2 separate regions of the Homo sapiens genome follow, and region 1 is linked to region 2. Evidence: promoter capture Hi-C in human tissues and cell types (Jung and others, 2019). All regions are on one chromosome and are shown on one strand. The core of a region is centred on a gene start or on the middle of the fragment in contact, and the rest is flanking DNA. Distances in the headings are between cores, read along the strand shown.

Region 1 (5,612 bases), core at 1,882-4,381, 200 kb before region 2:
TTGAGTCTATTTCAGAACTATTTGAAAGTTTCCTAAAGTTTTTTCTTCATCTTTATTTAGTTTACAACTTTGAATATTTATTGAAAGAAAAGCTTCTGAAAGTGCTTTATGCAATGCCTTTTCTATTTTTCTTTTTTAAATGTTACACCACTGGGTTACTTTAATCTTCTCTTTTCTGCTCTTGCATTTAAACATTTTTCTCCATCAAAGGCTAATAATTAATTGAATTAATTGGTACATACTTGTAGTATGGACAATAAGTATCTAATAAAATTTCCAAATTCTATAGCAAACATTATGTTCTGTATTCATGAAGTTTAGGAAAATTATTAACTATAGGTCTTAATTTGGCTTTATACCAGTTTCTTTAATTCAACTTCTATAGATCTGACTTGTGTTCTAGAAAGTTTAAAATGTTATACTATTTTCTGGTAAAATCTCTGATGACAGAGTATTTCATTTAGAGAGTCAGGTAAAGTTGCATAGAAAAAGAATGAAATGAAAAGAAGGTAGCATTCAGAAGGTTACCAAAGCCTTGACAAAAATCATCTTTGAATTGGAAAATTTGTTTGCAGGATGACAGCTAAAGAAACTGACAATTCACTGTGGTATTTTATCTCCTAATTTGTCTAGAGCTCCTTGTAAATATTTTAATTTATTGATTTCATCATAAATTAGTTCCCATATGGCCAATGTTATTTTAAATATCTATTTTCCTACCTATCCATCATCTATCTATCTATCTATCTATCTATCTATCTATCGTCTATATATATATATTTATCATCTATGTATCATCTGTCTTGCCTGCATTGGGAAAACAAAAATAAAATTAGGATTAGTATGTGACTTTATATAGGAAGAATAAGTTCTTCCAGAAAAAGGTTTGTATTTAGACAGAGACAAATCTCTGATACACAAGGAAGAGAGGCCACTAAGTTCTGTCAAAAGTGTGTGCTTGCCAATGGTGTCTTAGATTCCCAAAGCAAACGGAGTGTAGGAAGGCAACACACAATCACTAAAATAAAGTGATCTTTCATAAGTTGACAACACGGGAAGTATTCTTGTAAAGGTTTTCTAAGAAACCTAAGGCTGAGTGACCTACCACTTTTGGCAAATTGGTTATCAATTTAAAGGAGCTCCAAACATTAGCACTCAGGGCCAGCTTGGATTGGACACTTCTTAGGCTTACATGTTCCTCTAATGTTTATGAACTATCCCTTATATTGTCAACAGAAAAAGGTGATTCAAAACAAAACAAACACACAAACAAAACAGAAAAATATGGTTCAAAACGAAACAAACACACAAACAAAAAAGACCCATAAAATAAGACTTTGTGTATGTATGTAAATAACAGCAAAAGCAAAGAAACAGCAAGGGAATAAACAGATATGGAAAAAAATATTTATCAAATTGTGTATCTCTAAAGTGAACTATTTATTGACATAATAAAAAGCTTATGTCTAATTACCAAATGGTGCATTTCAAAACCAAAGGTTATATGACTTAATATATAAAGATACAGGTGAAATAACCTTACACAAAGACCTAAGTTTAAGTGCCTTCTATATAAAGACCTACATGATTACAAATCCTAGGACAACTACATAAATTCAGCAACAAGAGCTCAGTAAAATTAGCCAGAGTGAGAAAATTATTGAGAATGACTCTCATGCTAGTACATGGGAAGGACAGAATGCGGGCACGAGGGGGTCCAGTGAGTGACCCTGTTGATCAGAGCATCTCCTGGAATGTTATCAAATAAGGAGTCTTCAAAATTATCTTGGTGAAGCCTCTAGAAATATGAAACATGGTGAGACTAAATACATAAAATTTTTTTTAAAAAGCACAAAAGCTGGCTGGGTGTGGTGGCTCATGCCTGTAGTCCCAGCACTTTGGGAGGCCGAGGCAGGCTGATCAGGAGATCGAGAACATCCTGGCTAACACAGTGAAACCCCGTCTCTAGTAAAAATACAAAAAATTAGCCGGGCATGGTGGCGGGTGCCTGTAGCCCCAGCTACTCGGGAGACTGAGGCAGGAGAATGGCGTGAATCCAGGAGGCGGAGCTTGCAGTGAGCTGAGATTGCGCCACTGCACTCCAGCCTGGGCAACAGAGTGAGACCCCGTCTCAAAAAAAAAAGAAAAAAAAAAAAAAAAAAAAAGCACAAAAGCTAAACAAATTGCTTACTATAGTAAGGGATAGTTATGCTAGGCAGATACATTTTCTCTGAGCAGAAGACTATTCATTTTATATGGAGTTTTTAGAAAGTGTGGAGTTTAGGGATTGAAAACCTTGCAGCTTCTGAGAGCTGGTTGACATCACCTGTAGCAATACGATTACTCACATGAGACTGTTGATTAGTTGGCACTCATTTATTGAAGTGATTCTGATCCTGCCTGAGTGATTATCAGAAGTAAGGGCTGACAGTGCTTGCTTGGCATCCAAACACATGTTCACTGAGGCAAGTTGTTGATTGACTGACAGGTTTAGCACTGGTTCTGGTGGTTCCTTGTTGCCATGGCTACAGAACAATGAGTCTTTTCCTAAATTTATGGAAATGACTTTATTCTCACAATTTGGGAAATATTGGCCCAGACCAAATATTTTGTGATTACAAAATTCTGTGAAGGGGTTGTCCCAGAGCCTGACAAATTTTTCTCTCACTCTGAAATACAAAATACATTTTATTCTCCATCTAGAAGGAAAAGATAAGCCAGGAATTTAGGAACAAATTCTAGTCTTTCCTTTCAAGAGATGGGTTAGGGGAGATTTCATTCTTCCTGGATATGTCCACTAGAGGTTACTAACTCAAAGGCCCTCAGGTTTCAGATACAGATCATTCATGATTCATGAGAAGAGTGAGATTTAAGGTATAATATAGAGTTATGCAGGAAACAGGAGAATGCAGATTCTTCTAAAGAAGTCCATGAAATTTACATTGAAAACACTCTGCTGGCCAAAAACGACTTGTCTATGAGCTGGACTTGCCTACAGACAATGGCTGCATCAAAAGAAAAGTTTTGTTAGTTTATTTCTTAATAATTTATTCTATCCCATTATCACCATTTAACCCTCACTGGAAATAAAGTTTTATTTGGGTGTTTTCTTTTTCTGAACATGTAGAACCGAGTCCCATTCACAGAATGACATCTATTTATAATGCTGATGTTGGAAGAAAAGATCATTTTTATAGGTTCAAGTATGTCACATTAGGCTTGTAATAAGATTAAGTTTGGGGACATAATTGTCCAGGTAAGACAATGATGTATCTTTATTTGTGTAATAGTGTGCATTTTTAAAAAAGCATTAAATGCTGTAAATCATGAAGGATGCAAAGATGACTGTGTCTCTGGTAATTAATAGGCAAGTTGTTATTCCTAGCAGAAACCTTGGATTCATGCTCAAATGATTTTTCTCATCACAGGCTGTGAGCCCATTCCTGTGCGCTATCTTGAGTGGAGCAACATCGAATCCATTATAGCCATCGCCTTTTCATGCCTGGGAATCCTTGTTACCTTGTTTGTCACCCTAATCTTTGTACTGTACCGGGACACACCAGTGGTCAAATCCTCCAGTCGGGAGCTCTGCTACATCATCCTAGCTGGCATCTTCCTTGGTTATGTGTGCCCATTCACTCTCATTGCCAAACCTACTACCACCTCCTGCTACCTCCAGCGCCTCTTGGTTGGCCTCTCCTCTGCGATGTGCTACTCTGCTTTAGTGACTAAAACCAATCGTATTGCACGCATCCTGGCTGGCAGCAAGAAGAAGATCTGCACCCGGAAGCCCAGGTTCATGAGTGCCTGGGCTCAGGTGATCATTGCCTCAATTCTGATTAGTGTGCAACTAACCCTGGTGGTAACCCTGATCATCATGGAACCCCCTATGCCCATTCTGTCCTACCCAAGTATCAAGGAAGTCTACCTTATCTGCAATACCAGCAACCTGGGTGTGGTGGCCCCTTTGGGCTACAATGGACTCCTCATCATGAGCTGTACCTACTATGCCTTCAAGACCCGCAACGTGCCCGCCAACTTCAACGAGGCCAAATATATCGCGTTCACCATGTACACCACCTGTATCATCTGGCTAGCTTTTGTGCCCATTTACTTTGGGAGCAACTACAAGATCATCACAACTTGCTTTGCAGTGAGTCTCAGTGTAACAGTGGCTCTGGGGTGCATGTTCACTCCCAAGATGTACATCATTATTGCCAAGCCTGAGAGGAATGTCCGCAGTGCCTTCACCACCTCTGATGTTGTCCGCATGCATGTTGGCGATGGCAAGCTGCCCTGCCGCTCCAACACTTTCCTCAACATCTTCCGAAGAAAGAAGGCAGGGGCAGGGAATGCCAAGTGAGTTATCTGACCTGTTTGTCTCTCTTTTCTCTTCCTTTCTCTGTCTCTTTCTCTCTCTCTCTCTCTCTCTCTTTCTCTGTCTCTCATATCTTCCTCTAGTTTTCTGAGTTGTCTCTTCCATTTCCCCCATGTCTTTCTCTTCCTTTCTTAATCTTTTCTCCCTTTCTTAAATCTCACATTCTGTTGCAGTAAGAATGCAGAACTGAGGCTCCTCCCTGTTTTCATTTCTTTGAAAGAAAAGGAGCAGGAAACAATCTTTATTCTTGCCTAGAAGCGGAAGCTTCGGTTCTGCCAGTAACTTACCCTTTCGCATGGGACCTCCTTCTATGGAGCATCATTTTGCCCCTGGGGGCTGGGTCAGAGAGGCAAGCACTAATTATAATGTCTAGTTCTGACCATGGTGAAAGTAGCTTCTGGTTTATTTTTATCATTCCGGAATCACACCACTTCTAAACCGGGGTGAAAGGGAGGAAAACTTAGCACCTGGAGAAATTGCCATTTCAAAATTTGATCACTACTGAGCACCAAGTATGTCCTAAAATAAGATCCTGCAAGCAACTGACTTATCATATCTCTCTTATTTATTGAACTGGAATGTACATTGTAATAAACATGTTCCACGATGTTATACATGAATTGGGTCATCTCTGCTACTGCAAAGTCATGATCAGAATAGTTTCTTAGTCATAAAGCACCAAAAAATAAAAAAAAATAAAAAAAGGGAACCAGGTGATAAGCCCCAATCTTGAGACTTTGTGTGAACATTAAAGTCCAGATGAATTCCAGATGAATTCTATTCAAAGTCCAGATGAATTATATTTCTATAATTCTTCTGAGTTGTTTTTATAATAAGCACTTTCCTATCCTTTTTCTATTTTGAGAAGAAGCATATGTTAAATTTGCATATGTCACCTCTTTCTGTGACCCATGAAAACAAATTTCATGTAACGTTTTTTATTTCAAAAATAGCACGGATGCTTGAAGTTCTAAAGGTAACCGAAGTATCCAAAGATTAAGTCATTTTCTCCACCAGCAGCATTAATTTCACTCTTTCAAACAATCCTTTAAAAATAAAAAGTTTTAATAATAATCATGATAAGGTACACATTGTTAATAATCATTCCATCCATCTGAACCTGTCAGCAGGAACATTATTTCCCCCTATTTTGTAGGTGAGAAAAGTACTCTGCTGTAAATTTTTATAACTTGTATTTATTTATTATTATTATTTTCTTAATCCCAAATGTGAT
Region 2 (5,361 bases), core at 2,754-5,253:
CAGGTCATTAAAACTATAAATTCAATTTTTCCCAGAATAACGGGGCTTTCTGTGGCAGGGCCAGCAGGTTTCATATCTGCAGGATCCAACTTCTCCTTAACAGGTGTAGAGACTGAATATTACTGGACACAACTGAATGTCAGTTGTGATTTTTAATACCATTTCCAATGATCTGAAGTAAATATGTTTTGAACTCTGAAGTAGGCAGTGTGTATGTAGCAGAGAGTTTAGGAGCCTGCACTCTGAAACCAAAGTGTTCACCTATGCATTTTGACTCCATTCCCCCTGTGCTTTGGACTTTGGGCAAGTTGCTTTGCCTTTCTAAAGCTCATTTTCTTCGCTATAAAATGGGCAGAGTTTCATACTTCATAGGGTTGTGATCACTGAAGGTGTCAGAGGCAGAATAATGTGGTTATAAAGAGCATGGGTCTAGAGCCATGAGTTTGAATCATGCCTGATCACTTACTAACTTAATTTAGCCACTCTTTGCCTATGTTCCTATTTATAAAAGAGAGATTATAATAGCAAATCCCTAGGGTGTTTGTAAGGATTAAGTGAATTAATACAGAAAAATAGCTTAGAAGAGGGTCAAGCACATAGCAAGTGCTCAACAAATGTAAGCTCTTATTATTAAGGGTTTAGGAGCTTCAAAAGTGTGAATGAATTTGGTAGAAGAGGAGTTTTTGCTTTGAGTGACCCTACAGTCTAGTAAAGGAGAAAAAACAAGGCATAAGTATTAATAAAAACAAGACAGAATATTATAGGAATTTTAAAAGATGAACAAATAAAGTTCTGTGGGAAATAAAGGAGAAGGGTGTAAATTTCCATGGAAATGTGAAAAGAACAGAACTTGAAGTGACAGTTAAATTCAACCTTACACAGAACATGTAGAATGCATACTTTCTCATTTGGCTGGTTAAATTCCAAGTAATTTTATAATTGACCTAATTGCAAAGAGGTAGCTGAGCAGCAAAATATATACAATTCCCTATGGCTGTGGAATCAAGTGTCTGAAGATGGAGTTATGGATTTAAGAAACAGAAATGCTGCCACTCTGCCCACCCCTGCCATCTCCCACCCAGTTCCCTCCATCTAGGATTCCCATTGGTGGAGGGAGAAGTGGTTGCCAATTCTCACTTCCCTATTTAGGCAGATCCTCAAGCAGAGAGACTCCTGCCTGTTTTGTTTCTGCTGATATGGGGAAGTGGGTACCTCTAACCACTTCCCTAGGGAGCAGGCGCTACTGCTGCCTGAAGCCAAATATCTCTTCCCCGAAAAGGAAGTATAGATTAGAGAGAGGCCCTATTCTGGGTAGCTTGAATAAAATATAAGCCCTGTTTCTCAGTCTTTGACAGTTGTTAAATAGCAAGAGTTTGGAAATCCCTAAGCTCAGTCCCAGGGCAATCATCTGTATGGACAGTTAGTCCAGAGAATTGGAGAGAGCACAGGTTATGGAGTGGCCAATCTTCCTCTGCCACCTACCACCTGCTCCATGTCAGGCAAGTCCCATTTCCTGTCTGCATTTCAGTTCTTTACCTGTGGAATAATAACATTAGCTATAATTCTCTGAATGCTTGGGATGAGTCAAGCATATTTGAGGTATTATTCTTCCCTTTCCACAAATAAAGAAAATGGAAGTTAAATAACTCACCCATAATTACCCAACAAGAGTCAGGATTTAAATTCAAGTTTATCTCTAAAGGAGTTAGCACCCTTCCCTAAACCTTGCATGTAGTAGGTACTCAATAAATCACAGCTATTATTATTATTATTCCAAAGTGACATTGACAACAGTTATAAGAAAAATAAAAACAGCAGTAGGACCTATTGTCTTTTTTGCACTGCCACAATAAATATCATGTTAAGCTTTGTAGCTAGAACTATCTTAGAGAGGAACAGATTTGCTCTTATAATTACAGCCTGACCAGAACCTTAGCTCCAGAAAGAAGAGAAATTCCATTTATGCATGTTGCACTCTTAATATAATAAAGGAGAAAGAACACTGGCGTAGGAATTAATAGGCAACTTATACTCGTCACATCTTTTATGATTATCTTATTCCATTCTGGTGACAACCCCCTTACTTTATCCTAATTTAATAGATGTTTAAAAAGCAAGCTCTGAGTGGAGTAGTGATATGTTTGGCTTAAACTGGCAATGCTGACTTTAATGTGTTTAGTCCAAATTCCATCAATAAATAACCCAGCAACTTTTGGCAAGACATTTTGCTTGTCTTCGCCTGGAGTTATTTGTCCATAAAATACCGGTGGGATGTAGATCTTTTGATTTCTAAGGCTTATCTTCCCTAATTCTTTTGGCATCTTGCAGCCATTAACAATGGCTGCAGGATAGCCCTTGTTCAAGAAGAAACTCACCTCTCTGTGGGGTTGGCTGCTTAAAGTTGTGCTGTTTTCAGCCAAGAGTCTTTGTATATACTTATAGCTATAAATTTGATTACTCTGACAAAATTTGGTAGTAAATAATTTTTCTCACCATTTAGTCCTCTACTTTCATTCAAGAGAGTTCTCTGGAAATTTGAATTATGGTATAAACAAAGCAGAATCTTCATGATGTGTTCATTGTCTTTACATATATAGGAGATGTTTGCAGGGCAGTCTTGTAGTCATAATATTAACACTGCTGACTTGGAATTTATTTATTTTGCATATAGAAATACAACGAAGGGGCTGTCTGTCATCTAGGTAACCCCCAGTAGTAATCCAATAGTAATAAGATTGGGATAGTCTGACAAACCATAGGCTATGCTGAGTGGAGAGCCCTGAGCATTCATTTGTCAGAGAAGTTGAAAGATTTTCTCTGCAGGAAGCTGCCTCTTGCCTGCACAGGTGGAACTGTGAGCATGTGCCCAGTCCCATGAGTGGAGGGGATTTCTTTTATTTAAAGATACTTAACTATTTCTAGGCTCATGAAAGACACCAACCAGTAGTAGTGGTCCTAGGCCTAAGGGCTGTGTGTCAGATATCTCTGAAGTGAGGTTATATTGAACCAACACAATATTTTGTTTTGTTTTGATAAATTTGCAAGCTCTTGCAGTCTAAGCATGTCTCAGTTAAGCATAGTATCCACTACTCTGTATTTACCTGGCCAACTTCATTCATTCACGCTGTCTGCTGCTCCTCGAAACCAGGTGGTCTGTCATCTCTGAAAGAGTGGCTCCTATTTGCTGCGCTTTGCATCTTATCCTCAAAACAGAACTGTGAGTTAGGTATAACTCCTATTTATAAGTGAGTAATAGGCATCTCCTATTTATAAGTGAGTAAACTGAGACTCAAAGGGAAAAACTAGCCCAAGGCAAGATAACTAACAAATCACCACTGATGACTGAGCCTTAAGCCTGCGCCCTAATAAGTTTCATTTTACTTGGTTCTGTCTGTGTCATCTGGCCCCTGGACCTTTTCTGGAAAGTCTGCAAAGGACCACCTGAGCCCATGACTTGGACTCACTCTTTCATTCGAACAACAAGACACCTTATTGGTTTTATTACAGATATCATCACCTAGCCCTCAGCGACTCAAGGTGTCATTATTTTGCCTTCCTTACACCCACTGTGTTAATTTCTGGACCCCAGGTTTTCAAGCCATTGACAATTTCAGCGTGTCTGTAATGTCTCCTTAGTAATTATTGAAGGTACTTGTTATATTTAGCCAAGAGAATAACTGGGGTGGTACTAGGATAACATCTACGTTCAAATAGTTGGATATTCAAGAGTCGATATATGTCTATGGTTCCGAAGGGCAAAGCCAGGCAGTGTAGGTCCTGCAGAACTCCAATTAATCAGGGCTGCCCAGTAATCCTAATGCCAAACCCGTGCCCCAGAACCTCGATTTCTCCCCAGACACCAACTCCAAGTTCCTCCACGGGGATGTGGGATTTCAGTTTATGCTCTTGCGTCCCTCTGCAGCCACAGGCCGCAGAGCCCGCCCCCAGGGCCCCGCCCCCGCTCTCCGGGCGCTGGACGCGGGACGCCGTCTCCTGGCAACGCAGACGCGGAGCCGAGCGCGCCCGCAGGCTCTTTGCTCAGAGCTCAGCCCTACATAGATCGGCTTCTGCCATGGCCTCCAAACAAACCAAAAAGAAAGAGGTGCATCGTATCAACTCGGCGCACGGATCGGATAAATCGAAAGAGTAAGGGACCTCTGCCTGTCCGTCCCTCCCCTGGCCTAGCCCCTCGACCTCACCACTAGTTCTGGGGCTGCCTCCCTGCAGCAAACTGTGCCAGGGCAGAAGTTTAGTGGCCTCCTCGCAGCTTGTCTTCTCTGGTAAACCAGATCCTGGAGGTGCTCGCTCTCATCCTTCTCTCTTGCTTGTCTTGACTCACTTCCTTTCCCAGAGCCCCTGATTTTCTTGCTTTGGGTGTTCAGCTCCCATGGGTGAATCTGCCACCCCTCCTCTTCTTCATAGCCCTCTCAGGCAGTTAGAAAGGCCATAGCTTTCCTAAGAAAGAGGCATATCTCAAATACTTCTGGTTAAAGCCACATCTTCATGGCCCCGGAAATGATACAGACAGCGAGTGACAGACAGACATGGACACATTTCACCTTAATGGTGATTTTCTAGTTTGCATCTGCCCAGTCCAACGACTACGATCTTTAATCAGATATAGTCAGACGTAAAGTGGCTTCTAAACCTTAAAACATTATAAATGTATAGTTCATGTTACTAACATTTACTCTGAGAAAGTAAACAGACCCTCGCTCATGGAATTTTTATGGTGCCTTTGTCCTGGGCTGGTGTTAGGTGTTGTGTCTTAGGATGTACTTCCCCATGATTATTATTTTCTGTGGTCTGTTTCCCTAGGGATATCCAGTTATCCACAGCATAGGATTGGGGCTGTTTGAACTTACACCATTTCTAATGTTCATTCCCACTGTGAGAGAATCCCAGCTGCCCGCCCTGCTTCAGTGGGATCATTCATGTTCTTCATGCTCTGCCTGATGGGGAGGGCGATGCAATCAATCATTTCAAATTGAATTCTTACATCCTTGATGCCTGTTTCTCCATTTCCTTCCCTGGCTGAAGAATTCCACATTGGACTGATCCCTATGATTCACTGATCCCTAGGATTTAAACTCTTTTTCTTTGTGAATTCTTCTCCCAGACTCATTCCCATGTCTGTGAATCTCTAGTCCCTTAGTTCTAACCTCTCTCATAAGCAGGTTTCCAGTTACCCGGCAGATAATCCATTCCTTTTACTAGCTTAAATTTTAGATATTACATATATAAGTAATATTACATATATAATTTTATATAAATATTACATATGTAATTTTAATAGGATTGCTTTACTTCTGTGTACCAAAGTCAGGTCTTTTCAGCGTTGTCTAATGGCTTCCATTCCTC

The links. The method cuts DNA at HindIII sites, captures the fragments that hold promoters and counts their contacts. A contact is called where the count stands out against the background at its distance.
Region 1: a fragment that was not itself captured here is called in contact with the fragment with the promoter of ADGB in region 2 in 4 of the 25 tissues and cell types used here (bladder, heart right ventricle, spleen and 1 more).

What each region holds. Positions count from the first base shown.
Region 1 is chr6:146,395,341-146,400,952 of GRCh38, forward strand. It overlaps GRM1 (glutamate metabotropic receptor 1), which reads left to right. Exons shown (of 8, transcript NM_001278064.2): 7 at 3,429-4,359. Among named protein-coding and RNA genes, the nearest start is that of RAB32, 150 kb to the right of the region's middle. The HindIII fragment of the contact is 4,712 bases long and covers 776-5,487 here.
Region 2 is chr6:146,594,969-146,600,329 of GRCh38, forward strand. ADGB (androglobin) reads left to right here and starts at 4,004. Exons shown (of 36, transcript NM_024694.4): 1 at 4,004-4,146. The coding sequence starts at 4,073. It overlaps ADGB-DT (ADGB divergent transcript), which reads right to left and starts at 3,963. Exons shown (of 3, transcript NR_125860.1): 1 at 3,865-3,963; 2 at 3,102-3,203; 3 at 1-1,536. RefSeq lists a silencer at 3,805-4,099. The HindIII fragment of the contact is 7,954 bases long and covers 1-5,361 here.